2 separate regions of the Homo sapiens genome follow, and region 2 is linked to region 1. The links are contacts of gene promoters, found by promoter capture Hi-C in blood cells and fetal thymus (Javierre and others, 2016). All regions are on one chromosome and are shown on one strand. The core of a region is centred on a gene start or on the middle of the fragment in contact, and the rest is flanking DNA. Distances in the headings are between cores, read along the strand shown.

The links. The method cuts DNA at HindIII sites, captures the fragments that hold promoters and counts their contacts. A CHiCAGO score of 5 or more calls a contact.
Region 2: a fragment that was not itself captured here is called in contact with the fragment with the promoter of ING4 in region 1 in 1 of 17 cell types (non-activated CD4 T cells); the score reaches 9.2 in non-activated CD4 T cells.

Annotation. Positions count from the first base shown.
Region 1 is chr12:6,659,365-6,666,590 of GRCh38, forward strand. ING4 (inhibitor of growth family member 4) reads right to left here and starts at 3,755. Exons shown (of 8, transcript NM_016162.4): 1 at 3,701-3,755. The coding sequence starts at 3,737. It overlaps ZNF384 (zinc finger protein 384), which reads right to left. Exons shown (of 12, transcript NM_001385745.1): 12 at 7,113-7,226. RefSeq lists an enhancer at 3,726-3,785. The HindIII fragment of the contact is 5,227 bases long and covers 2,869-7,226 here.
Region 2 is chr12:8,079,411-8,086,636 of GRCh38, forward strand. It overlaps NECAP1 (NECAP endocytosis associated 1), which reads left to right and starts at 2,864. Exons shown (of 8, transcript NM_015509.4): 1 at 2,864-2,973. The coding sequence starts at 2,879. RefSeq lists enhancers at 2,126-3,325, 2,757-2,976, 3,047-3,106. The HindIII fragment of the contact is 1,287 bases long and covers 3,571-4,857 here.

The sequences.
Region 1 (7,226 bases), core at 2,505-5,004:
GGCCAACATGGTGAAACCTGTAATCCCAGATACTTGGGAGGCTGAGGCACAAGAATTGCTTAAATCCGGGAGGTGGAGGTTGCAGTGAGCTGAGATCGCACCACTGCACTTCAGCCTGGGTGACAGAGTGCGACTCCATCTCAAAAACAAAACAAAACAAAAATTAGGCCAGGCGCGGTGGCTCACACCTGTAATCCCGGCACTTTGGGTGGCCGAGGAGAGCAGATTACGAGGTCAGGAGATTGAGACCATCCTGGCTAACATGGTGAAACCCCGTCTCTACTAAAAATACAAAAAAATTAGCTGGCCGTGGTGGCGGGCGCCTGTAGTCCCAGCTACTCGGGAGGCTGAGGCAGGAGAGTGGCGTGCATCCAGGAGGTGGAGCTTTCAGTGAGCCGAGATCGCTCCACTGCACTCCAGCCTGGGCGACAGAGCGAGACTCTGTCTCAAAAAAAAAAAAAAAAAATAGATGGGCATGGTGGCCTGTGGCTGTAGTTCCAGTTACTCAAGAGACTGAGGCAGGACAATTGCTTGAACCAGGGAGGTAGAGGTTGCAGCCCGGGCAAAAGAGCAAGACTGTTTCAAAAAACAAAAAAATTAAAAAAAATAATGTGTAATTAGTTATTTGGTATCTGTCTCCCCAGGCCGAACATGGCTATCATATTCTCTCCTGTTTCCATAGTGTTTAGAATTATGACTTGCAAAGAGCAGGTACTCAGTAAATACTTGAATAAATGCATGAATATTTGTCACCCCAGTACAAGAGAAATCTCTTGCCAAGACTCCACCTAAAACTTTAAAAATGCCTCTACTTGCTGGGCACAGTGGCTCACGCCTGTAATCCCAGCATTCTGGGAGGCCAAGGCAGGTAGATCGCTTGATCTCAGGAGTCTGAGACCAGCCTGGGCAATATGGCCAGATCCTGTCTCTATAAAAATTAAATATATATATAAAAAATAAAAGGCCTGGTACGGTGGCTCATGCCTGTAATCCCAGCACTCTGGGAGGCCAAGGTGGGTGGATCACCTGAGGTTGGGAGTTTGAGACCAGCCTGGCCAACACAGTGAAACCTCATCTCTACTAAAAATACAAAAATTAGCTGGGTATGGTGGCGGGCACTGTAATCCTAGCTACTCAAGAGGCTGAGGCAGGAGAATCACTTGAACCCGGGAGGCAGAGGTTGCAGTGGGCCAAGATCGCACCATTGCGCTCCAGCCTGGGTGACAGAGTGAGACTCTGTCTCAAAAACAAACAAACAAACAGAAAAACTAAAATAAAATAAATAAAAAAAAATAAAATGCCTCTACTGTTTAAACCTACAACTTCAGGTCTGCTACCACCAGTTCACAAGACTGAGTCACTGGTGATTTACCAAATCTAATGGTGTTATTAAGCCTATCCTAAAAAATATCTCTGCAGCAGTTGGCATGATCTTTTCTCCGCTGAGTAACTTTCTTTTCTTTTCTTTTGAGGTGTAGTGTCGCTCTTGTCGCCCAGGCTGGAGTGCAATGGCGCAATCTCAGGTTCAAGGAATTCTTGTGCCTCAGCCTCCCAAGTAGCTGGGATTACAGGCGTCTGCCACCACGCCCAGCTAATTTTTGTATTTTTAGTAGAGACGGGGTTTCACTATGTTAGCCAGGCTGGTCTTGGAACTCCTGACCTAAGGCGATCCACCCATCTCAGCCTCCCAATGTGCTAGGATTATAGGCGTGAGCCACCGCTCCCAGCCTTTTTGTTTTTGTTTTTTTTTTGAGGCGGAGTCTCACTCTGTTGCCCAGGCTGGAGTGCAGTGGCATGATCTCGGCCCACTGCAACCTCCACCTCCCAGGTTCAAGCGATTCTCCTGCCTTAGCCTCCTAAGTAGCTGGGACTACAGGGGCACACCACCACACCTGGCTATTTTTTTTATTTTTAGTAGAGACGGGGTTTCACCATGTTAGCCAGGCTGGTCTCGATCTCCTGACCTCATGATCCGCCTGCCTCAGCCTCCCAAAGTGTTGGGATTACAGGCATGAGCCACCGTGCCTGGCCACCAGCCTTTGTTTTTTTTTTTTTTTTTTTTTTTGAGAGGGACACGGAGTCTTTCTCTGTCACCCAGGCTGGAGTGCAGTGGTATGTATGATCTTAGCTCACTGCAATCTTCACCTGCTGGGTTCAAGTGATTCTCCTGACTCAGCCTCCCAAGTAGCTGGGATTACAGTCACATGCCACCATGCCCAGCTAATTTTTTTTTTTTTTTAAAGTAGAGACTGGGCTTCACCATGTTGGACAGGGTGATCTCAAACTCCTGACCTCAAGTGATCTGCCCGCCTTGGCCTCCCAAAGTGCTGAGATTACAGGCATGAGCTACTGTGCCCAGCCTGTCTACCTCACTTTCTAAGCAGGAAGAAGCCACCTTAGATTCTTCCTTCTCTCTCAACCACTCAGTCATTCAGTCAGTCCTTTCATATTTAACTCCTAAATACTTCTGTAACTCCCTAAAATCAGGTTCTTATCTCTGTCCTGGAATGTTATCACTAATTGATCTCTGTTATCAACAATATCATGCTCCAATTTACCATATATTAGTCATTTTCCTCTATAAAAATCATACTCTACTTTAAAATGCAAACTTCTTCGTTTGGCTTAAAAGACCTTGTCCAATCTAGCCTCAGCCTCTTTCTCCAGTCTCCTTTCTCAATTTCTTACCTTAGATTCATAAATATCAAATACGCTGACCTCTGAGTCATAAATATCAAACACCCTTGACCTTGCCACAAACCCATCACAGTACCTTTGCGGATGCTTTCCCCAACCTGGAATTCCTTTTTTCTCTCCTCACTGGCAAATAACCTTCAAGACCCTATTCAAACATCACCTCCGCTGTAAAGCTTTTCCTACATCCCCAGGTAATTACCCCCCTTTTCTCCAGGGTTGCCTACCAAGTGTCCTTTTTAATGTATTTCCATTATCTCACTTGTCACAGTGTTTTATAATTATTTGCAGAATCTGTTTCCTACTAGATCGTGAGCTTCTTGAGGGCAGGAGCCTTGTCTTACTCATTTTTCTATCCCTAGTGCCTGCCATTATGTCTGACCCATAGCAGGACCTCAATAAATATTTGTTGAATAAATGACTCCGGGCCCTAAAACAAATGTAAGCGCACAGAGCAATAGGCTTTCTGCAGGGGTGGTTTACATAAATCGCATAAACACCAGATTTTCATTTGATGGGAATTAGATCTTTACTCCATGAAGAGAAGCGTTCTAGTTCATCATCTGACAGTGGTCACTCATCACCACCACTCTCAACCCCATGAGAAGCCACTTTTGAGGAAGAATGGAGTGGAGGAGAGGTCTTTACCGCTTCTCCAAATGGCAGTGTGTGATAACGATTCTGAACGACTATGGGGAAAAAAATCTACCGAGGCTGGAGACCCTGGAGAATGGGGGCAGCAACTATCTTCCTGGCCATGCACACTAGCCCTTCAAGACACGTCTCTAACCCCCACACCGCACCCCTCCCTCGTCTACACCCATCAGCGGGGCCTCGATCCTGCTGCCCCGCCCCCTCTTTCTCCGCACCCTCCAATATTTCCTGCCACAGAACCGCTTCATAATTGTGACCTTCTCGTCACTGGAACTTAAGGGCTACAGATCCTCTCATCCCTGATCCCCGCACCACTCTGCAGCCCCGACCCCCACCTCCAGCCTGCTCTTACTGTCCAGATAATGTTCCAAATACATCCCCGCAGCCATCTCGAAGCAAAACAAAGCAACTTCCGATCCGCCCCGGAAGTGACTGTAACGCGACAGGGGCCGAAGCCATTTTGCGGCTAAAGCCTTTCCGCCCTTAAAAGGAGAACTTCCGCCCTTAAAAGGAGAACTTCCGCCCTTAAAGGAGAACTTCCGCCCTTACTATATTACCGCCGGTACACATCCGCCCGACACTGAAACTTTTCCTTTTGCATGGTAGCCACGACCGCCCACAGTGAGGCGGCTGTAGCCCGCTTCCGCCCTTACAGACACCCCAGGACGCGACCGAGACAGGTATGACGTCACTGGAGGTCGCCATTTTGCATTCTCTAGCAAACTTTTTTCCCTCCAAAACGGGAATGTATGGTAATCCGTGCAGGGGTAACTGTTCACTTTAGGCTCATATTGCGTAAACATACCTTCTCAGCAACTGGAAGATCCAACTTTTTTTCCCTCTTTTGCAGAATGACTTTTTTCAAGCCAGTTAGTTTCTTAAGGAAGTTGGGGAAGAGTATCAGGCCTTGAGACATTTAAACCGTCTGAATTTCTATTCACTCACACAAACACCATCTCCCCCAGCATTATTTTTTTAACTTGAGAAAGATGATCACCTTTCTACTTATAAATACAAAGAATGACTCATAATAAAGCTATAATTCTGCACATCTTTTGTCAGAGCTCCTGTACGTTACACTAGAATACACTTTCACATATAAAATATTACTTCCTGCCTTGCCCTCTTGCTTTTTTTTTTTTTTTTTTGAGACAGAATTTTCACTCTTATTGCCCAGGCTGGAGTGCAATGGCGTGATCATGGCTCACCGCAACCTCCACCTCCCGGGTTCAAGTGATTCTTCTGTCTCAGCCTCCCGTGTAGCTGGGATTACAGGTATGCACCATCACGCCAGACTAATTTTGTATTTTTAGTAGAGATGGGGTTTCTCCATGTCGGTGAGGCTGGTCTCGAACTTCCGACCTCAGGTGATCTGCCCACCTCAGCCTCTCAAAGTGCTGGGATTACAGGTGCGAACCACTGTGCCTGGCCCCTCTTGCTACTCTCTAAGGGGGAAATCTCGTGTTTTTGTTTTCCTTTTGTTTATATGTGATGTTAGCATCATAATTCTGAAGGGATTGAGGGATGCAGCAGTATCACTACTGGGCTAGTTGGCTAGTTAGTTGCTAGCCATCACTCTAGTCAGCTATGGTAGAGTGATTTCTATGGTTTTCATCAGAATGGGAAGCAGTCAAGGGTATGAGAGGCTGCCAACACACTAGGCTGTCAACACACTGCCAACACAAAGGCCATAACCTAATAGTGGTGTTAGTAAGATAGTATTTTAGAGATAGCTGCCACCCCTCACACTTTTCGTACCCTCACACATCCTTCATAAGAATTACCAATGTCTTACGGCAAGTTTTTAAAGAGACAGACTTTCAGCTATATAATTTCTACCAAATATGTGGAGAAGAGGAACTTCCAACCCGGGGCGGATTGGAAGTTGCTTTGTTTTGCTTCGAGATGGATGCAGGGATGTATTTGAAACATTATCTGGACAGTAAGAGCAGGCTGGAGGAGGGGGTTCAGGGGCTGTAGAGTGGTGGGGGTATCAGAGCTGAAAGGATCTGTAGCCTGTAAACCCCAGGTTTACTAGTGTGCAGGTAGTAAGATACAGCAATAGAATCCGGGAAACTGCTCTAATTACAAAAGTCATGCTTTTCGGTAACTTGATCTCTGTGCCTGTTTTACTATACAATGAGACTACTACCTCCCTCATAGGGTTGTTGGAATAAGTGAGTGTGAGTGTATCCATAAAAAGAGTAGATTCTAGTTCTAATACTGGTGATGAAGTTAGGGCCATTAGGGCCTTTTCAAGAGTTGGTGAGAGTGGGAGGAAAAAGCAGTAAATATGCAGGGAGCTAAGAAACATTGGCATATTTGGTCATATGTGATACATTCATTGGTATTACACAACATATTGAGACACCATCTTAGGTGCCCACACAGGATATCTAGCACTAAATTAAGTGGGCTTTATTTATCCCAGCCCAACTACATAACAAGTACTATTGGCCAGCAGTCCCAGAGTTCTCAGGATGTGGGAGCTTGGTCACAACTTTCACAACTTTTTCGGTGCTTAAAGCAAGGTTTTTTTTTTTTTGTTTTTTTTTTTTTTTCCAGACAGAATCTCGCTCTGTGGCCCAGGCTGGAGTGCAGTGGTGCAATCCCGGCTCACTGCAACCTCCGCCTCCCAGGTTCAAGTCATTCTTCTGCCTCAGCCTGCAGCTGGGACTACAGGCGCGTGCCACCACACCTGGCTAATTTTTGTATTTTTATTTTACTTTTTTGAGAGAGAGTCTCACTCTGTCGCCCAGGCTGGAGTGCCATGGCACGATCTTGGCTCACTGCAACCTCTGCCTCCTAGGTTCAAAAGATTCTCCTGCCTCAGCCTCCTGAGTAGCTGGGATTGCAGGCGCCCACCACTATGCCTAGCTTATTTTTTGTATTTTCAGTAGAGACGGGGTTTCACCATACTGGCCAGGCTGGTCTCGAGCTCCTAACCTCATGATTCACCTGTCTCGGCCTCCCAAAGTGCTGGGATTACAGGCGTGAGCCACCGTGCACGGCCATCAATTTTTGTATTTTTAGTAGAGATGGGGTTTCACCATGTTGGCCAGGCTGGTCTTGAACTCCTGACGTCAAGTAGTCTGCCTGCCTCGCCCTCCCAAAATGCTGGGATTACAGGCGTGAGCCACCGCACCCAGCCTTAAAGCAAGTTACTTAATTCTCAAAAAAGGTATCTTCAGAGTTATCTAGTCCAATCCCTTCACTAACAGTTGAAGAAGCACCCTGGCCAACACTGGTTGATGGTAGGCAAAGGGCTGAAGTCCAGGTTTCATGACCACATTCTACTCCATAGTACTACAGCTCTCCTGCATAAATCAATCTTGCACCCCTTAACCGGTTATGATTTCCACAAGGTAACAAATACACATATGTATACACATTGCCAACTGCAAGCCCCTCTTCCACAGACTCAGGCAGGAGTGTAGGTCCTTTCAAGAGGCTTCCATTTTTCTTCCATAGGGAGCTTAGCTGTTTTGTTAACACATAACCAAAGCCTTGCTCTCACATATTTAGGCAATGCAATCCCCATGACAGAATGTGTATGTAGAAGTCCTCATAAACCAGGATTTCACTGGAGACATCATGAAACTGTACCCTTCCATGACTGGAGAATTGCACAAATGGGGCATCATCACACAAGCACTTGTTCATCACACACACACTCTGGTATAAATCCTCAGTACTGTTCTTGGACATCTCCCCAAATACCTTTTCCGCATGCTCGCTCACATCAGTAGCTCCACTGCCTCTGATCCTTTTACATGAATTTATTTCTATACAATGTTCTAAAAACACCCCTTGGTTTGTACATAAGTTTTTTTCTTTTTTTCTTCATTTTTAAATTACTTTATAACAACTGGTTTCCT
Region 2 (7,226 bases), core at 2,964-5,463, 1.4 Mb after region 1:
CAAGAGAAGGGAAATTTAAATTTATATAAAGAAAAAACATGGTTAAGTAAGGGTTTTTTTTTTTTTTTTTTTTTAGGTGAAAGGACTTGAATATACTTACATGGTGAGGGAAAGGGGTGAATGGAAAATGAGTTTTAAGATACAGGAAAGAAAGGAGATAACTGATTAACCAGGTCCCTGAGGAGATTGGTCCCTGAGGAGAATCCAGGGCACACACAAGTGGATAGGAGAAAGAATAGATGAAGATGCAGATAGGAGTATGAATAGGGTGTCATTAAGTTGAGAGAGTTCACACAAACTTTATTTTCTTAGGGAAGTAGTAAGATGTTTTACCTGTCAAGAAAGAAAAAGAGAAGACTTAGAGTTGAAGGCCTGAAAGGGCAGCAAAATTTGGAACAACCATTAAAGGGAATGAAAATAAAAACTAGCAATGGCAAATCTGGGTGTTAAGGGCAAAGCTGAGACTCAAACCCATAAACTTTTAGGGACACCAATCTTTATAATTGTGTGATTTGCTTTTGGAGAATGATGGAGGGAGATGGTTGGAATATATAAGACTGGAGTCTTTTGGGTTGGCTGTGATGGAAAGACAAAGAGGAAAGGAAACTTAAGGATGCTGGCAAGAGAACTGTTGAAACAAGGAGATGGGAGGAATAAAGAGAAGGCTAACAATGTGCAGAACATGAAGAAGAACAGGTGAGGTAGAAAAGAGAGGTAAAGATAGTTAGAATTTATGTCAAGAGATTGTATGGCTAGGAAGAGTTAACTATATGGGCTTTGAAATCTCTAAAAGATTTGGGAGAAGAGGAAGAGTATAAACTAGTAAGAAGGTGAACCAGAAGCCAGAATCCTCCAAAAATGATTGCCAGTGATAACACAGAACAGAGAAAAAAAAAGAGGTACAATGTGGTGTAGTCATATGACCTAGGCTTCAGATGAGATCATAGGGTCAGAAATAAGGAACAACAAGTAATAAACCACTTTTCTGTCTTTATTTTTCTTTTAACATGTATTCAGTGACAATAATAGCTATATAAATCTTAAACAACAGAGAAATATATGGAGGAGAAAATAAGTTTCTTTCCCCCACTTAGCCTTATATCCTTTGAAAGCCTTCTCAATGCATTTACATGCATGCATATATAATTTTGGGGTGTTTCGACAAAAGTTGATAATGCTGTATGTTTTTTGCAGTTGGCTTTAAAAAATCTTGGATCTCTTTCAATGGCTAACCCTTTAGTTCAAAACATCTCATAGTAATAGATATACCATTAACCATTTCCCATTGATAGATGGTCATTTTGTTTCCATTTTTTTCACTATTACAAACAATGCTGTAGTATTATTGTACATACTTTTTTGTGCATATAAGGATTTCTCTACAATATTTATTAGTGAAACTGCTAAATTGAAGATTACGTCCAATTAATATTTTGATAAATTCTGTTAATTTCCCTTTTAAAAATGCCGTGCCAATTTACATTCCTGCCAACAGTGTATGAGATTAGACTGTTCCTCACGTCCTCGCCAGGGATAAATGTGGTAATTCTTTTTGAAATTTAAGATATCACTTTCCAAGGTGGAGCAGACAAATTAGAGGCAGGTTTGCTTTTTTTTTTTTTCTCATTAAACTTTTTTAATGGGTCTCAAAATTCTGTGACAAATTTTTGGATGTTTCCATTAAAAAGTACTGATTTAAAAAACTAATAACTTAAAACTGCCACACGCAAAAAAGAAAACCAGTGGTCCACAAAACATTCTCCTTTCCTTCTGAAGAAGAAAACCAGTGGTCCACAAAACATTCTCCTTTCCTTCTGAAGGTTTTACGATGCATTGTTTTCATTAACCAGTCTTTTACTACTGAACTTAAATGGCCAGTTGAAACAAACAGTTCTGAGACCGTTCTTCCACCACTGATTAAGAGTGGGGTGGCAGGTATTAGGGATGATATTCATCTAGCCTTCTGAGCTTTCTGGGCAGACTTGGTGACCTTGCCAGCTCCAGCAGCGGTGAAGACTGCTGCTGTTGTAATGAGGCAGGCTTGAGTTTCTGTCTCAGTTTTGCCACTTGCTATCTGTACTGTCAGGGTGTTGTGGTTAAGTTTACCTTTGGGGCGCAGAAAAAGCATATTTATGGTGAGAGTTCGGTAGCATTTATCATTATAATAGAACTGGGAGCTAATATAGGCCATTAGATAGTTCATTATGCTTCCGATTTTATCAGGAATTGGGTTGATCCCACGTATAGTCTATTTAACAGGATCAAATTTTCCAAAAAGATAATCGGAATACACGCCGAAAGTGTGGCAAAACATTTTAACAGGTGTCGTCCTGAAAAATCGGAGATAAAGAGTGTAAGGCACTAAATCAAGTTGGGTGTTTTCAGCGTTTAGACTCTGGAGAGTTGAAATCCACGGTGTCTATGACCAGATCATACATCATTCTCTGCAGGTACCTCGTCTGGGACTACCGGCTGGAGGTTGCCTCTTTTCTGCCAGGAGACTACAGTTAGGAAGTGACTCCTGTAAGAAAATCCGTCACGATTCAATATGGTCCTCGTCCTCGTAGGACACTCCAGGCACCTGCCTAGAGTAAGATGGCGCTTTTCGTAAGCACCTCTCCAGGACAGAGATTTCCATAACGAGAGTCACGCACTTGCAGGCCATCTTTGCCATTATCCAAGACGGTGAGCCGTGCAGCCTCATCGTTTCCAGGTTTCAATATGGCTCCCCGCGTCACCGAAAAGGTTAATCTCAGAAACTAACTTGAACTCGCGCGGAAGTGACGCAACAGAAGTTGTCGCGCTTTGCATCTCCGCCTCCCGTGCTCCGCCTCCGGTCTTACGTTTCGCCCCCGGCAGCGCCGACAGCGGACCCAAGATGGCGACCGAGTTGGAGTACGAGTCTGTGCTGTGTGTGAAGCCAGACGTCAGCGTCTACCGGATTCCGCCCCGGGCCTCCAACCGCGGTTACAGGTACTAACCCCGAGGCGCTGCCGCACACGCGTACTCTGTCGCAGATGACAGCTTCCTTCTCAGCTAGCACGCTGTCCGTCCCTGCCACTACTACCTCTGTATTGTCACCTTGCTAGCCTCCCTACCTGGGTTGTCATCTCCCTGACCACCTGCTCCATCTCCACTCTGGACTGTCATCACCATATTTCTGCCGTTTTTTTTTTTGTTTTGTTTTTTATTAAATTACCACTCTGCGTTATTCCACTCTGCCTCTCCCGTAATCCCCTGGGGCACCCATCTGCTCCCCATCATGCACTTTCAGTCGTGCTTGCTCCATTGCCAGTCCCCTTTCATTCGCTCTTCCCTGCGTCCTTCAGCTTATCATCCTCATCCTTTCTCTCTCTCTCTCTCTCACACACACACACACACACACACACACACACACACACACACACCTTTCCAGTTCCCCATGCACATTTATGGGTAATCGTGTTGCTTGCCACTCTGGATTATCTGATTTATTTTTTGTACTGTTGTCAATTTCGTCACCAACTGTCATCATCCACCATTCGGTTTTTCCTTCAGCAGTTTTACCAGTGAGCAAAGGTTATGATCATAAGCTTTACAACGGTTGTTCATTCTGTTTCTTCTCATTGTATTTTCTTGATGATTATATAGTATTTTCTGTCTTCCTTCCCTACCTCCCTTCTTAACCTCTCCTACACCTTTTCCCTCCAAAGTTGAGGCAGCATTTTTCTCTGTTGGGCCTAACTACCTACCTTGTAATCCAATGACTGTGAGGTTCTGAGGATGCTATAGGACATTATGTAGTTGAAAGACAGTTCACTGGGCTTCATGTTAAACCATATGAGTGTGAGCCCTTTCCAAGCCTCAATTTTCTCATCTGTAAAATAGAAAAAAAAACCTGTTAGTGATGATACCTGCGCTCTTATAATGTGCTTAACAAGGGTTTTTGGGAGAGTAAAATTAAATCATATAATGGATGTGAAAGAATGTAGGAAATGCAATAAAGCAGTTACAAATACTATTTGTTTGTTCTTTTTTTTTTTTTTTTTTTTTTTTTTGAGATGTAGTCTCACTTTGTTGCCCAGGCCGGAGCGCAATGGCTCAATCTCAGCTCACTGCAACCTCCGCCTCCTGGGTTCAAGCGATTCTCCTGCTTCAGCTTCCTGAATAGTTGGGATTACACGCATGCACCACCACACCTGGCTAATTTTTGTATTTTGAGTAGAGATGGGGTTTCACCAAGTTGGCCAGGCTGGTCTTGAACTCCTGACCTTGTGATCTGCCCACCTTGGCCTCCCATAGTACTGGGATTACAGGCGTGACACCACGCCCAGCCGTCGTTTTTTTTTTTTTTTTTTTTTGTTAGAGAGGCAGGGTCTCGTTCTATCATCCAGGCTGGAGTGCAAGTGGTGCAATCACAGCTCACGGCAGCTGTGTACTCCTGGGCACAAGGGATCCTCCTACCTCAGCCTCCCAAGTTGCTAGGGCTACAGGCATTGCCTCACAATGCCTGGCTAATTTTTAAATTTTTTTGTGTAGACAGGATCTTGATATATTTCCCAGGCTGGTCTCGAACTCCTGGCCTTAAGTGATTCTCCTGCCACAGCCTCCCAAAGTGTTGAAATTACAGGTGTGGGCCACTGCACCTGGCCAAGATACTGTTCTTATTCTTCTCTCTGACCCACATCATCATTGTGATTTTTCCTCCTGGCATTTATCATTACCTTGGCTGAAAAGTTACCCTCTCCTTATGTCTGTTATTTTGCCCCTTACTGGCGTTTTATTCATCATGAATCAATATTTTTATGCTTGCTGACCTGTGCGCTGGGCCCTGTGGGTTGCACCTTTGGCAAAGAGGTAGCAGTTCTGTTTTTAATAAGCTTTTAGTTGGACCCCAAACTGACCCTAAGTAGAAATCAACATGCTTTTAGATGGTAGTTACAGGTACTATATGAGTCACTTAAACATCACCTTCTTTGGGAGGCCCTATGTGACCCTTCCATTCTGGTTTAGATATGCACCCTGTGTGCTTCCATAGCACCTTTTTCTTTTTCTTTTTTACTTTAAGTTCTGGGATACATGTGCAGAATGTGCAGGTTTGTTACATAGGTATGCATGTGCCATGGTGGTTTGCTGCACCTATCAACCTGTCATCCTCGCCCCTCCCCCGAGAGGCCCCAGTGTGTGTTGTTCCCCTCCCTGTGCCCATGCGTTCTCACTGTTCAACTCCCACTTGTGAGTGAGAACATGTGGTGTTTGGTTTTCTGTTCCTGCATAGCACTTTATTCTTATCTCTATTCCAGGGCTCTTCATTTTGTATTGTAATGGATTACAGTGGATTGTACAATGGATTGTTTAGTCTCCTTTTTTCTCCAGGCTAGACTGTGAACAACTTGAGATCTTTTTAACTTTATATTCCCAGGGTCTAGCACAGTATCTGGTACACTTTGGGCACCCTGTAAATGTTGACTGAAAGAAGAAATCAGTAGATTACACAGAGAAACCTAATCACATAAAGTGGCATTGATTGAACTGTTAAATAAGGTCAAATAGCTCATTACTTCCAACTTTAGGAGTTAAGACTCCTAAAGGATATGATACATATTGAAGTGGGATTATATTCTTTTTCTTGAAGTTTTTTTTTTTTTGAGATGGAGTCTGGCTGTGTTGCCCAGGCTGGAGTGCGCTGGCGCAATCTCAGCTCGCCACAACCTCCGCCTCCCCGGTTCAAGTGATTTTCCTGCCTCAGCCTCCCAAGTAGCTGGGACTACAGGCACGTGCCACTATGCCCAGCTAATTTTTGTATATTTAGTAGAGACGGGGTTTCACTGTGTTGGCCAGGCTGGTCTCAAACTCTTGACCTCGTGATCCGCCTGCCTTGGCCTCCCAAAGTGCTGGGATTACAGGCGTGAGCCACCGCACCCGGCCTACTTCAAGCTTTTTAAAACACCTCCCCTCTCACCCATCTTCTCTATCTTCACTTCTTAGTTTTCCACAACCTTTATACTTACATCAGTTAACTGCACTGAGCCATTAAAGCAGTTTCTTAATTTTCCTCTTTTTCCTGTTATCCTTCTGTGTTTTCCATGTCTACTGGCATTTTTTATCCTCCAAGAGGCACCTTATCATCAATCACTTTTTTAGTACAGCACATGAAGAGAGCGGAATTAAGTTTGAATAACGATATTTATTTGCTGGGTTACCTTTGGCAAATCACCACTTTTGAATGTTAGTTTCTTCATTTGTAAAAATGACTATAACAATACTTACCTTGTAGGATCCTCTCACTTAATCTTCTTTTTTTTTTTTTTTTTTTTTTTTTTTTTGTTGTTGAGACAGAGTCTCGCTCTGTCACCCAGGCTGGCGTACAATGGTGTGATCATGGCTCACTGCAATCTGTGCCTCCCAGATTCAACTGATTCTCGTGCCTCAGCCTCCTGAGTAGTTGAGATTACAGATGTGCACTGCCATGCTTGGCTAATTTTTTGTATTTTTAGTAGAGATGGGGTTTCACCATGTTGGCCAGGCTGGTCTTGAACTCCTGGCCTCAGGCAATCCACCCACCTCAACCTCCCAAAGTGCTGGGATTACAGGCATGAGCCACTGCGCCTGGCCCTTTCACTTAATTTTCACGAGAATGGGCATAATGCCTGGCACATAATAAATGCTTGATAAATGCTGGTTTTCTTTTTGTTTGCATAATCTTTCTTATTTACCAGAACCCACTTTATATTATAAGCAGGATTTATTCTCTAGGCTGACATTAAAGGACAAACTGGGCTTTTTAGAAAGCAGGAGGAATTTTTCCTTTGAGTGACTGGTAAGATTAGAGAGAATAATTGATTTTAATTCACCTAGTGTAAGCTGTTCGTTCCCAGACTTTCACTGACCAGACTTCTAGACTATGGGAAGGAAAATTTGGGTTGACAAGAAACTTATCAGGCTGAGTGCGGTGGCTCATATCTGTAATCCCAGGACTTTGGGAGGCCGAGGCGCACGGATCACTTAAGGTCAGGAGTTCCAGACCAGCCTGGCCAACATGGTGAAACCCCGTCTCTACAAAAATACAAAAAACTTAGCCAGCCGTGGTGGCGCACACCTGTAGTCCCAGCTACCTGGGAGGCTGAGGCAGTAGAATTGTTTGAACCCGGGAGGCGGAGGTTGCAATGAGCTGAGATCATGCCACTGCTCTCCAGCCTAGGCGACAGAGCAGGACTGCGTCTCAAAACAAACAAAAAGGAAACTTA